Regions from separate parts of the Homo sapiens genome. Here all the other regions are linked to region 1. The links are contacts of gene promoters, found by promoter capture Hi-C in blood cells and fetal thymus (Javierre and others, 2016). All regions are on one chromosome and are shown on one strand. The core of a region is centred on a gene start or on the middle of the fragment in contact, and the rest is flanking DNA. Distances in the headings are between cores, read along the strand shown. Region 1 holds the start of GALNT3 (polypeptide N-acetylgalactosaminyltransferase 3). Region 2 overlaps SCN2A (sodium voltage-gated channel alpha subunit 2). Region 3 overlaps SCN2A (sodium voltage-gated channel alpha subunit 2). Region 4 has its middle 68 kb from the start of CSRNP3. Region 5 has its middle 45 kb from the start of CSRNP3.

Region 1 (2,655 bases), core at 75-2,574:
TTTAATATTTTTTAGCTATAGAATTTGACTGTAAATGTCTTCATTATGTAGTGTAACTTCTATAGCAAGTTATGTTAACGTTTTCAAGAATCGGAAATATTGGTAACTCGATGGGGTTCTTAAAACAGAAATAGTTTCTTTGATGAGTTGGAAAGAGAAGGAAATAAAAGTCTAAGGTAAGCGCCAGTTTCACCCTCAATTCTTAGGCTTCAGAAAAGCCTAATTAGGCAGGGAAAGGAATCTGGGCCTGGCACACCCAAGCTTAGACGTGGCAGGATCCTGAAACAATGTTTTTTTGAACCTTTGAGTCATATGCCACAGGCAAACCATAGCCGCGATATGCAGGTCCTTAAGTCAACAGGTCCTCTAACGAGATGGTGAGTGGTTGGTGCGTGGCAGTTGGATTTCTTCCCGCCACGGAAGAAAAGAACTCTTCTCCATTGATCAGGAAAGTGGGCCCAACTCTGGCCTGGAGAGCGCACCCGGAAAAGTGCAGAGTCGAAACAGAGAGAGAGGGGTGTCCGCGTCCCGGCCACAGAGCCCTTTCCAAACCACTCGGAAACCATTTAAATGGCTCGGCGGCCGCGGTTTGCAGCCTAGAACTGTTTGGGGTCCCCGGCTAGGAAAGTTGCCTGGCAAAGCCATGTCTTTCGCTGTCGCGGGATGTCCTCTCGGGCAGAGAGGCTGGAGGAGACAGGCAACCTGCTAGCCGGAGTGGAAGCGCGCCCGCCTCCCGCCGGGCCCTCCCTCTCAGGGTCCCCACGCTGCGACCCTCCCAAGGGCAAGTCCGGGGCCACCAGGTCTTTGGTCTCCGTCCAGCTCCTCAGGGGCCGCCCCATAGGGACTGGCGGGGGCACCGTGGGCGAGAGGGTGTGACCGGGCTCCCCCCCGAGGCGCCACCTGCCCCTTGGCCCAGGGCGCCCCTTTCGGGATCTCTCCAGGGGCAACCGACACACTGCTCTCGAGACCGTCTCCAACCGGCCACCTGGACCGTAGCCCTGTCCCCAACACGTGAACCCCTGCGGCCGTCCTCCCGCCTGCTCTAACGCAGCCCAGGGGTACCGCGTCTCCCTCCGCCTGCCGCCGGCTTACCTGGCGGGTGGGCAGGGCAGGGTGGCGGGAAGCGGCGGCCGGGCAGGCGCTGGACGTGGGCTAGGCGCCAGGTGCAGGTGGCGGCGGCTGCGACTCCGGTTGCTGTCGCCACAGTTGCGGCTCAGTAGAGCTCCTCCTCCGCCGCCGCCTCCTGCCTTCCCGCTGGGCCTCCCGCGTTGCCTGGAGAGGCAGAACCGAGGCTCGGCTTCCACTTGGAGTCTCCCAGGTGAGCTCCAGCCTGCGACGTCGGCAGGGGCGAGGCCCCACTTCCGCGCCTGCGCGCCAGCCTCCCGCCCCGCCCCAGCCCTACCTGAGCGCTCCAGGTGAGAACCTTGGATCGCGCGCGCAGGGTGGGGGCGCCGTCCGGGCCAAGCCTGGCTGTCGCGCGGCTTCTCTCTGAGTGGTCGGCGAGGCTGCTGCTCCGCGCAAGTTGTGGCTCCCGGCCCATCTACATTGGAGGAATCCTGCACTGACCTGGTGGCAGTGATCACCTTGTAGCCAGAACACAGTCTGCTGGGTCCTTGGGGAACCAGAAGTTCTAGATTTCCCCCACACGGTTCCTCCCTTCCTCCTCGGTTCGCCAAAATGAAGGGGTGCGCTGCCTCCGAGGACCACTTCGGGAGGGCAGCAACTGCTGGCTCATGTGGTTTCTTCGGGCAGGGTTCAGCAGCTTCTGTCACCAGTTAGGTTTCGTGAGCTTCCTTCCCGTGTAGTCTTGATTTCATCACTTGACTCACTTCAGCGCAGCTAGTGGTTTCCGTTTCTGTACGCGGGCGCTCTGGTAGGGGCGCCTCACGTCCAAAGGAGGAGTCTTCTTCCAAAGAAGAGCCTTTGGTATTTGGCAGAGCCTCGCCAATTTGGGGCGCACCTCCCCTTCCTGGGATGCTCTCAGAAGGCAAACCAATTCCCAGAAGAGAGGGAAAAACAGCCACAACAGAGAGAACCTTTGCTGTCCCTGTTTGGAAAGAGATTGGGATTTCCTGGAGAGGGCTTGCTTCTACTGCAGGTTTGTTTAAAAGCTCAACATCTATTCTGGAAGAGAACAACGCAGACTCCAGGAAGATGGTGGGTTTTGCTGTTTTTAAGACAAAAAAAAATTGTTAAACAGTATTTGTTCCATTTATGACACAACTTTCTGTTTCAGCCTTCCTTCTGCTGCTGCAACAAACATTGACACACCCAAAACCAGGACTTAAAATGGCCTTTATACCTTTCTATGAACTCATTTCTTTGGCCCTATCCCAAAGATATCTAGGGATATAAATAGAAAACTAGCTAAAAACTTTTTGGTGTCGTGTTTAATCACATGGTGGTAGGTTTTACTATGAAGTTTAGTTGTGGCCTTCCTCCTACATTTTGACATGCTCTTATGGTGCTTATTCACTGTTTTATTAGTGCTATGCGTGACCTAAAAATAAGGTTTAAAATACAGTTTAGTATAGTATCAACAAGTGTATCTTTAGTATTTGACTACTCTAAGACATTGGTTTTAGCATCCATAGTGCTATTTTATACTAGGACATCTATGAGTTAGGGTTTAAGACTTTAGTAAACTAGGTAGTT
Region 2 (2,655 bases), core at 72-2,571, 440 kb before region 1:
CTGAACTGTTTTCTTAAATTGTCATGGATCACACCAAACACCTGTGCCAGCTGTTATGCGCATACCCTTCGGTAACAAAGGAAGTCCAGAAAAAGAGAATAACTTGACTCACACAAATATTTCTAGGGAAATAAGGTAAATAAAAAGATAGTGTTGTGGAGGATAAGTTGGATAATAGTAAGTGATAACAGCTAAACTTTCTCAAAGGTTCACTATGTGCCAAGAACTGTGCTGAAAGCCACATGAATTCTGTCACTGAATCCTTTCAACAACCTTGTAAGCTGGGCACTAGAAAAACGATTACATTTATTTTATAGATGAGGAAACTGAGGCTCAGATTGGTTATGCTACTTAGTAGGTAACAGAAAATCGATTCTTACCTAGCACTCGAATTCTAAAATATGTGCTCCTCTATGTCAAGTAATCTATAGAACTAAGATAAACATGCTGATGAAAGTTAGTGTCTAGTGGGTATTAATAAACGCGGTTTCAAAACTGTGTCACCACGGGTAGATTGGCTGCTTTAAAAAAAATAAAAACTTCAATGGATTTATGAGAAAGAAAAGTCATATGTTCCAGGGATATTTATTTATTTTCCTGACAGTGGAATAGCATTGAATTGAGTTATCAATTCATAAAAGATCAGAGAAACAATTCGAAAATTAATAGTAAACCCTATTATACTGACTAAATATGGTAGCAGTTCAAAGAAAGGAAGTATCGGTAAGAGTAAACATGGAATACTGTTTCCTCACTTATTCTGCAAACATCACAATTAGGAGAAAAGACCTTGTAGTTAGACTTTCAAAAAAAAAAAAGCTTCTCTACTTATTAACTGTGGTCTTGGACAAGTCATGTAAGTTGTGCAGAAGCATTTTCATCTGTAAAATAGTAATAATTCCTGCCTTATAGAGTTGTGAGAAATAAATCACATAAACCTTGAAAATGCTTTGCACAATAACTGGTATTTACTAAGAGCTCAACTAAAAAGCTGGTTTTACTTTTATTGTTATTATGATCTGGTATTGATACTGCTCTAGGACTTGGCTCTAAGGCATGTTTCTGACCAAAAGATCTCCCAATCTATCAGTAAAGCTGTGCTTGTTTTTTTTTTTTTTTTAAAGAATCCAATATAATGTGATAGGGATGTGGATGAGAAATTTAACAGGACAGAATGAGAAATGGGAGCAGGCTATATAAATGTCACAGTAAATGACATTTGTAAATAGAGTATTTGTCCAGTACAGAGGCAATATAATTGGCTCCCGCCCTGGGGAAGGATTGATGGATGTGTATCAAGAAAAATTTCCAAATAGACAAATGACAGAACTTTAATATACTTTAGGAAAATAAGTCTAGGAAATAGCACCAAAATAGATAAAATAAAAATTTTACATGCAATTTTTTCTTCCTTTGTCTGTTTTTTTAATCCAAATAATAAGTTCAAAAGCAAATTACAATAAAACATAATTTTATTGGTAAATTCCAGAGGCAAAGGAGCAGGTCTGGTCTTAATGTGATTATCAGGAGTCATAGTATAGAGACTGACAGATTGTCAGTACACTCTCAAAATCAAACGTGGTCTTCATTGGATCTTACATATTTTTACTTTAAAAAAAATCACCATTGGTTAGACTAACTTACAACTAATTAGACAAAGGTGCTGTAAGCCTCATTAGCATGATAGAAGCATGAGAATATAGCAAGAATGTAGAATCCTTTTTATTGAAGTTTTACTTAAAAATTTTCCTAAGATTCTACTTTTGTACTACAGTTTGAGCATCCCTAATCTGAAAATTTGAAATCCAAAATGCTCGGAAGTTCAAAGCTTTTGAGCACCAACCTGATACTACAAGAGGAAAATTCACATCTGGCCTCCTGTAATGAATCGCAGTTAAACCACAGTCAAAATGTTGTTTCCTGAACTAAATTATTAAAAATATTGTATAATATTACCTTCAGGCTATGTGTATGTGTATGAAACTTAAATGAATTTTATGTTTACACATGTGTCTCATTCTCAAGACTTGTCATTATGTACATGCAAATATTTTAAAATCTAAAATCCAAAACACTTCTGGCCCCAAGCATTTCAAATAAGGGATATGCAACTTGTATTTACTTTGTGCATTTGCCCCCCTTTACTGCTATATCTTTCTTTTGTTCTGTATGTTATGTGTGCTTAAATAATCAGGAATTCATTGATATTGTCAATCAAATCCTGAAAAAAAATTATATGACTCAGTCTTGTACCCCTGAGAATGTCTGATTTCTTCGTAAGTTGTCTTTTTTTTTTTTTCCACAATAGTGAGTTTAATGTCATGAATCTTTTCACTCATTCATACTGGTGGAGCCTATTTTTAAAGACCCAATTTGCAGACTGATTACTGTCCTTATTCATGGCAATACTTCAACTCCACAATCTTTAATTCAACAATAACATCATAATTATTGTATAATAACCATTTTATAGTATTTCTCACTATTGTATAATTATAGTAGCCATAATTGTCTTAATAAAAATTGGGACTTTTCATCCAGCAATAAATACGTTTTTGTCTGATTTGTCCAGTTATCTAGGTACAAAAAATGGTACAAAGGCACAAAAATAAAATCATATTTAAATATATTGGGATAATTGTTGATTTTAGGAAT
Region 3 (2,655 bases), core at 48-2,547, 420 kb before region 1:
AGAAGATTTTCAAGAATAAGCTGTCATGATTGGTGATTGGTGTAATAATCATTTAGAAAAGAATAAGTAGAAAGGAAGCATTAAGATAAATAATGCAGCATACTTTTGAGCTTGTCTCATGCTGCTACTATACACATGAAATTTTTTCATCAAAGTTCATGATATATTTTTATATAAACACATCAGAGTCAAAGATTGTTCATATTGTTTTTATGATAGCATATTGTTACAGTAGATCATTATTTAATTATATATGCTAAATATCCACATAAGATGTTATAGAGGAATATAAATTTGAAGTATTTTCAATGCATATCGCAAAACATTGCCCCAAAAGTGAATACAAATTTCAAGCTTATTTATATGCCTGTATTGAATACATGTCAAATAGAATTTTGATCAATTATTCAATTTATTTTCTAAAATTATAATTTTGGGAAAAAAGAAAATGATATGACTTTTCTTACAGGCCACGTTTAAGGGATGGATGGATATTATGTATGCAGCTGTTGATTCACGAAATGTAAGTCTAGTTAGAGGGAAATTGTTTAGTTTGATTAAATGTATATTTCTACAATATTGTAATTTAGTGATATTGTCAATAAAATAAAATTATGTGCTTAATTTATAAAACCCATCTATATTATAAGGATAAAATATTTAATCATACTATTTCTTTCAAAATTATCATAGGATGATTTTCTCTAATCACTCTGTATCTTTTAACATATCTTTTCTAGTATTTAGCAAGGCACCTGACACAAAACTTTATTGTATGTATTTTCAAAATGAGACATTTTATTTTTGGCTCTGATAGTCCTGGTCATTTGTGCATTAGAAGTTCTCACAGGCAATATTTTTTATCTGTAATATATTTCCTCCAGCTTTTGATCTTCCTTATAATAGGAAGGATATGACTAAAAACGGGGACAAAAATAAACAATTTAGTGTTTCTCTTGGGAAAGTGAGATTAAGTGGTAGAAGGGAGGGACTTCCCTAATCTACTTTATACATACCAGTACTTTGAATTCTTTTCTATAATTTTCATTAATTTCTCACTATTTAATGAGGAATGAAGTCACATTTTGAAAAAAAAAAAAAAAGAGATTGATTTCTGGTATGCCAGAGCATGATAATAAAGCTCAAAATGCTCTTTCCCTAGCACCAGCAGCTAGCTTTCTGAGTGAAGAATTCCTGAGGTTTTTTTTTTTCTTTTTTCCACTTCATAAAAACAGAGAGGGAGCAAGAAAGCATGAAAAGCCCTGCATTGTATCTCTATAAGTGCTATCAGGAATTCCAGTTATGAGATTTTTCTGAATAGTAATAATAATTTATTGATTATCACTATTCACTGTGCCAAGGACTTTCTCACATTATCCCATTTAATCCTAAATGACAACCTTATTGTATAGGTGATACTAGCTCTATTTTACTACTGAAGCAAAGAGGCTTAATGCGTTAAATGGGAAAACAAGTTTTTGAACCCTGACCACAAATAATGGCTCATACCCACTTTCCACAGTGGTTCTTACCTTTTTGATTAATTAATTCAATGCTCTCTCCACCTTCCTTATCAATAGCTTATATGCCATGAAACATTTTCAGTTTCTTCTTTAATAACTTAGCAGACCTTTTCCGCTGCAAAACTCCTGGAATTTCCAGCACATTACAAAAGATGAAAGCCAATTGAGCACTACATTTATGAAAAGTTGCTGGATCTTGAACTTTAATTAGTAAATTGCATCAGATAAATGCAAATTTAAACCAAAATAAAACATTATCTACACACCTACCAGATTGGCAATACCAAAAAGTCTGACAATACCAAGTTTTACCAAGGATAAACAGCAATAAGAACACTCGTACAATGCTGATAGGAAAAAAAATAGTTAAATAATCCTTTAAAAACAGTTGGGTATGATCACATTATTTGAGAAAGTTAAAGATATTTTTTAATACTGCAATTCTACTTTGAACAACGTATCCTAAAGAAACTTATGCACATGTTTAGGATAATCTATGTACAAAAATGAATATAACTTTTTTTTGCACTTGCAAAAAACTGGGAGCAACTCAAAAACAGTAGAAATAGGCAAATAATTGAATACTATATAGTGATGAAAATGAATGAATACCGCCATATACAACCACATGGATGAGCCTTAAAAATACAACATTGAGTTAAAGAAACTAGACACATACTATAATTCTACTTATATAAAGTTCGAAATTGACAAAACTAAGCTTATTGTTCAAAACTGCATACTGAGGTGTTAACTTGAAAGAAAAAGCAGGGACATCATTACCATAAAAGTCAGGATAATGATTACCTCCAGCAGGGATGATGGAGTTTATGTTTGAGAAGGGTACACCAAGGGTTTCTGAAGTTGTAGCAATGTCCTGGGTTATGGATTTCACTTATAAAACATATTATATTTTGCATTTATGTATTATGCACTTTCCTGTATGTATATTGTCTTTTAAAAATTTTAAAAATATAATTTTACATCACTGTTAACTAAACTCACATACACAAATAAAATCTCATCGAAGAATAGCAGTTTTACAATATTCCTGATATTTTCCATTTTGCTGTATTTCCTTAGAAACAAAATTATGCTGGTCATAATCCTCTAAATTGATTTCATAACACAG
Region 4 (2,655 bases), core at 103-2,602, 390 kb before region 1:
ACCTGCCAATATTTTAGAAAACCATATTTTGATGTACCTGATTGCCCTTTTTTGACAGTTCCTCAAAAAGTTTAACACAGAATTATCCTATGACCCAGGAATTCTACTCCTAGGTATACACCCAAGAAAAATGGAAACATATGTCTAATATAATCCTGTACACAAATATTTATAACAACATTACTCATAATAGAAAAAAAGATGGAAATAACCAAGTGCCCAGCAATGGATGAATAAACAATTGTGGTATATTCATATGACTTATTCAATCATAAAAGAAATGAAGTATTGATACATGCTACAATTTGGATGAATCTCAAAGACATTATGAGAGGTGTAAAAAGCCACACACAAGAAATCACATATTATGTGATTACTCTTATATACCCAGAATGGGCAAATCAATAGAGATAGAAAGTAGGTTAGGCTGGGCGTAGTGGCTCACACCTGTAATCCTAGCACTTTTGGAAGGCCAGGTGGGGAGGGTTGCCTGAGCTCAAGAGTTCCAGACAAGTCTGGGCAATATGGCAAAACTCCATCTCTACAAAAATTAGCCAGTTATAGTGGTGGGGGCCTGTGGTTCCAGCTACTTGGGAGGCTGTGGCGGGAGGATTCCTTGAGCCCAGGAGGTTGAGACTTCAATGAGCCTTGTTCCTGCCACTACACTCCAGCCTGGGCAACAGACCAAGACCCTGTCTCAAAAAATAAATAAATAAAATAAAAATAGATTAAAGGTTACTGGGGGTGGGAGGACAGCCGAATAGGAAGTGCTTACTTAATGGTTATGGGATTTTTTCTGGAGTAATAAAAACGTGAAACTACAGAAAGCTTGTACTTGCACATGTGGCTACAATAAATACTAATGAATTGTACACTTTAAAATGGTTATGTTATTTGAATTTCACACAAAGGTAGTTATGTGGGAAAAGTAAGTTATTATTGCAACCCTATCCACTAGAGGGCGATGCTTCCATTAAGAAACATGACTCGTAAATTCGGCTGGTGGAAGAAGGGCAGTTAGCCTTGCAAATACATTTTCTGCTTATTTTGCAACTATTTTAGGTGTAAAACAATTAAAGTAAATATCCACTTTGGAAACATTGCTGGAAAAATAATGTTTACATTTGAATGTGTCTCTTCAAGAAAAAACAGTTTGTGAAGCATTTGTACTGAGAAAAGATTTCTTTCCTTGGGCATAGATCTCATAGTGCAAAAATTAAACAAACATGAGCAAATTATGAACCTAAAGACATGGTTAATGGAAAGGATCTCAGCGACTAACATAAAACTGAATGAGCAAAGTGTTGAAGTATTCATATCAATAGAGAGTTTCAAGTAACTTTATCACTATAAGTACTTGAGAGTCTTGAAAGTGTTTATCCACATTTTCATGAGCACGGCAAAATTTGGTTGTCTAACTCAGCACGTGTCTTAAATTCTGTCTCTAATTCAGAAATAATTCATCACTTAGTAAAGCTACATTTCTTGAAGGTGCATCAGGAATAAAATAATTAACTCATCATATACCAGAGATCCTGTGGCCAAGGGTTTTAAGAGAGTAACACAGGAAGTGTCGTGCATGCTCATGTGTGGAACACTTATTTTCAGCTCCAAATTCACACAATAAGTTATTCTCCCTACAAAGGGAATGTGTTTCTGCCACTGTTCACAACAAAATTGCAAATGTAACAGAAAAATTAGCCAAGGAAAACATAGTCCCTAAAGTAAATCTGATCCAAAACAATCTGATTAAATCCATAGAATTATAGCATTGTAAAGTCATTCTTGGGTTATTTATAAAGTCAGCAGTCAGCATTTCCCAAGGCATACTAATAGGAAGCAAATCCTTGCTCAGGAGCCAGCTGATAAAGACTATAAAGCTTATCCTCGGAGCAAAACCAGAATGATGTCACTACTAAGTCCTCCATAAAATAAGAAGCAGGCGTTTTAGTGCAGGTAGTTTGGGGCAAGAATCAATACGTGGCTTGGGAAGAGAGTCCAAAAATCCAGAAACATAAGCTTAATCCTAGGCTTTTCTTTAGAAAGGTTTGGATGTATACCAGAACCTACTTTGTAGTCAATATAAGAAATCATATACTGTATATATTTTCTAAGGTGTCTCAGTTTATTCATTTTAAAAACAAACAAATGGATATCCTTTTGTCATCTTTATGACATAATCTTCAGATATTGTTATTTATTATAGCATACTGGTTTTCAATTGTTAAATAACCACACATGCAGAGGCCCAGACAACACATCCAGTATTTATTATCCTACAGTTTCTTTGGGTCAGGAGTCTGGGTACAGCTTACCCGGGCCCTCTTCTCAGTCTCACAAGGCTGCAATCACAATGTCAGCCAGGACTGGAAGCTCATCTGAACCTTGGAGTTCTCTTCCAAGTTTAAGCAGCTGATGGTAAAATTCGTTTCCATCAGCTTTAGAACCCATGGCAGTTAGTTTCTTCAAGACCCAGGAGAGTTTCACTGCATCAAGTCTTTGAGCTCAGGGAAGACCTAAACCCTCTTTTAAAAGGCTTATTTGATTTGGTCAGGCTATCCAGTATAATCTCCTTTAGACTGACTCAAAATCAAACTGTTTCAGCACCTTAATTACATTTGCAAAATCCCTTCACTTTTGTCGTATTCTATCAGC
Region 5 (2,655 bases), core at 53-2,552, 370 kb before region 1:
GAAATGCCTTGGAGGCCATTTCCTTTCTGTTGTCTTAGCTATCAGTACTTGGCTTCCTTTTAGTTATGCAAATTTCTGCAGCCTGCTTGAATTTCTCCACAGAAAATCGGCTTTTCTTTTCTACCACATGGCCGGGCTGCAAATTTTCCAAACTTTTATTCTCTGCTTCTTTTTTAAATATAAGTTGCCAGTTTCAAGACATTTCTTTGCTCACACATATGAGATAAGGCTGTTAGAAGCAGGCAGGCTACATCTCGAACACTTCACTGCTTTCATATTTCTTCCACCACATACCCTAAATCACCACTCTCAAGTTTAAAGTTCCACAGATCCCTAGAACAGGGACACCATGCACCCAACCTCTTTGCTAATGCATAACAAAAGTGACCTTTGCTCCAATTCCCAATAAGTTTCTCATTTCCATCTGAGACCTCCTCAGCCTGGACTTCATTGTATATACCACTATAAGCATTTTGGTCACAATAATTTAACAAGCCTCTAGGAAGTTCCAAATTTTACCTCATCTTCCTATCTTCTGAGCCCTCCACACTGTTCCAACCTCTGCCTGTTACACAGGTCCAAAACTACTTCCACCTTTTCAAGTATCTTTGAAGCAATGTCCCACTTCTTGGTACCAATTTTCTGTATTACTCCATCCTTGTATTGCTATAAAGAAATAACAGAAGCTGAGTAATTTTTAAAGAAAAGAGGTTTAGTTGGCGTATGATTATACAGGCTGTACAGGAAATATGATAGCCTCTACTTGGTTTCTGAGGAGGCCTCAGGAGACCTATAATCATAGTGGAAGGTGAAGGGAGAAGCAGGAATGTCTTACGTGGCTGGAGCAGGAAAGAGAGCATGGGGGTTGCAGGGGTAGGCACTACACACTTTAAAGCAACCAGATCTCACAAGAACTCCCTCATTCACTATCACAAGAACAGCAGTAAGGGCATGGTGCTAACCCGTTCGTGAGAACTCCATCTCTGTGATCCAATCACCTCCCACCAGGCCTCACATCCAACACAGGGGATTACAATTCAACATGAGATTTGGTGGGGACACAGATCCAAACCATATTATAAATCTAATAAGAAGTTAGCCAAAAACAGTAGAAATTTTGAAGAATATACAAGTATTATTTAATTTATCCTTTTTATTTTCCAGTTTATATATGCTTTATAATATACACAATATAGTAGTATATTAGTAGACTATAATTAAGTAGATGTGTGTAATATGAATGTGTTTAGTAGTTAACTGATATTGTTTATAATGAAGCAACTTCTAAGCCATTAGTCTATAAGTTTTATGAGCTTGTTTGTTCATATTTATCACTTAGTACCTAGCAATTAAGTCATGTACAGAATCTCTCAAAGCCAGGCCAGATGCTGTTTTCTTTATTGTATACCACAATTCTAAAGACCCCTGTTTTTTGGAATAGAGTAGATTAGTATAATAGTCAATTCAGCCGAAGTAGTTAGTATGCAGATATTGTGATAGAATTAGTGTGCTCATTGTATACAATGCATCATGCCATGGCCAAGCAGTGTGCCAGGGCAGAAATAACACTATGTGACTGAGAGCTGAGAGCTGTAAGGGAGTGAAAGAGCAGGCATATAAGAAAAATGCAAGAATGCAGAAATTAATGCATTATTATGGAACTAGTTATTTCTTGTCCTTCATGGCCAACTTGATAATAGGAGGATATAATTAGGCAGCTGGTTATGATGGAATTGTGAGAGGTCACCTATACGCAAGCTGAAGGGTCAGAATGAACATTGATAGTTGAGGTGCAAAAAACTATTTTAGGGAGGATCCGTAAAGCTGAAATCCTAAAGAAAAATTGAGTCAGAAAACAAAATGGATAACTGACTAGCAGAGACAAAAGCAGATGTAGAATCCAGGGTTGGAGCTAAATAGGTAATCAGAACTAAGAAGTCAGATACTGACTTGTATGGAAGCATGAGGGCAGCTCTTGTTATTTTGGTTAAGCTGTTAGTCTCAGAGAATTTTCACTGGCCCAGTTGCAAATAATATATAAGTTAGATTTTTAAGAAACATGGTTAAACCACATTCTTCTTCCTGACATCTTTTGAATTGCCATAATCTTACTAAAATAGAATTCAGGTTAAAGCAGTATGGTAACAAATATATACAGTTATAGGTAAAGATTTGCTGTTATTAAAAGAATAAAATATTTAGGCTATTTTCAAAGATCTCCGATAAAATGTTCCCAAACTGCTTTTCTGGACTTATTATTTATTTTATGTTTCAAAATACTTTGGAGTCAAGCCACTCCTGACTAGAAGTATTTATTCATGCAAAACATGCATATTCAGGTGTCTATATTTCAGTGCCTATGCGTTTGATCTCTGTAGTATAATAAAGAATTTGGCTGGTCTCCATCCCCAGTTTATGAGAAGTAGCCTCAAAATCCTTGGAATTTCCTGAGTGACAGGAGTGTTTATGGTATTCATGGTAGACCTTGTTTATACTAGTGAGGTAACTCATGGTGGACTCTACATGTTTTATACTAATGAGATGACTCGGGACAGGTACTGGCAACACCAGAAAGACCAACCATGTGATGAGAGGATTGGGACTTTGATATTAGCTCAATATCTGGGGAGCATAAAGGGGTCAGAGATTTGGTTT

Evidence for each region. Contacts are between HindIII fragments. The CHiCAGO score rates a contact against its expected background, and 5 or more counts as called.
Region 2: a contact is called between a fragment that was not itself captured here and the fragment with the promoter of GALNT3 in region 1, in 1 of 17 cell types (non-activated CD4 T cells). The highest score is 5.0, in non-activated CD4 T cells.
Region 3: a fragment that was not itself captured here is called in contact with the fragment with the promoter of GALNT3 in region 1 in 2 of 17 cell types (endothelial precursors and megakaryocytes); the score reaches 6.1 in endothelial precursors.
Region 4: a contact is called between a fragment that was not itself captured here and the fragment with the promoter of GALNT3 in region 1, in 12 of 17 cell types (naive B cells, monocytes, total B cells and 9 more). The highest score is 8.8, in naive B cells.
Region 5: a contact is called between a fragment that was not itself captured here and the fragment with the promoter of GALNT3 in region 1, in 1 of 17 cell types (erythroblasts). The highest score is 5.0, in erythroblasts.

Annotation. Positions count from the first base shown.
Region 1 is chr2:165,792,923-165,795,577 of GRCh38, forward strand. It overlaps GALNT3 (polypeptide N-acetylgalactosaminyltransferase 3), which reads right to left and starts at 1,325. Exons shown (of 11, transcript NM_004482.4): 1 at 1,093-1,325. It overlaps LOC124906086, which reads left to right and starts at 664. Exons shown (of 6, transcript XM_047446887.1): 1 at 664-870; 2 at 997-1,415; 3 at 1,878-2,157. The coding sequence starts at 664. RefSeq lists enhancers at 75-981, 982-1,887 and silencers at 958-1,047, 1,118-1,267. The HindIII fragment of the contact is 5,078 bases long and covers 260-2,655 here.
Region 2 is chr2:165,350,768-165,353,422 of GRCh38, forward strand. The region is part of intron 16 of SCN2A (sodium voltage-gated channel alpha subunit 2); the gene reads left to right. Among named protein-coding and RNA genes, the nearest start is that of SCN2A, 110 kb to the left of the region's middle. The HindIII fragment of the contact is 1,009 bases long and covers 818-1,826 here.
Region 3 is chr2:165,377,128-165,379,782 of GRCh38, forward strand. It overlaps SCN2A (sodium voltage-gated channel alpha subunit 2), which reads left to right. Exons shown (of 27, transcript NM_001040142.2): 23 at 470-523. Among named protein-coding and RNA genes, the nearest start is that of CSRNP3, 91 kb to the right of the region's middle. The HindIII fragment of the contact is 1,890 bases long and covers 353-2,242 here.
Region 4 is chr2:165,400,524-165,403,178 of GRCh38, forward strand. No RefSeq gene overlaps it. Among named protein-coding and RNA genes, the nearest start is that of CSRNP3, 68 kb to the right of the region's middle. The HindIII fragment of the contact is 1,052 bases long and covers 827-1,878 here.
Region 5 is chr2:165,423,310-165,425,964 of GRCh38, forward strand. No RefSeq gene overlaps it. Among named protein-coding and RNA genes, the nearest start is that of CSRNP3, 45 kb to the right of the region's middle. RefSeq lists an enhancer at 1-310. The HindIII fragment of the contact is 3,027 bases long and covers 1-2,655 here.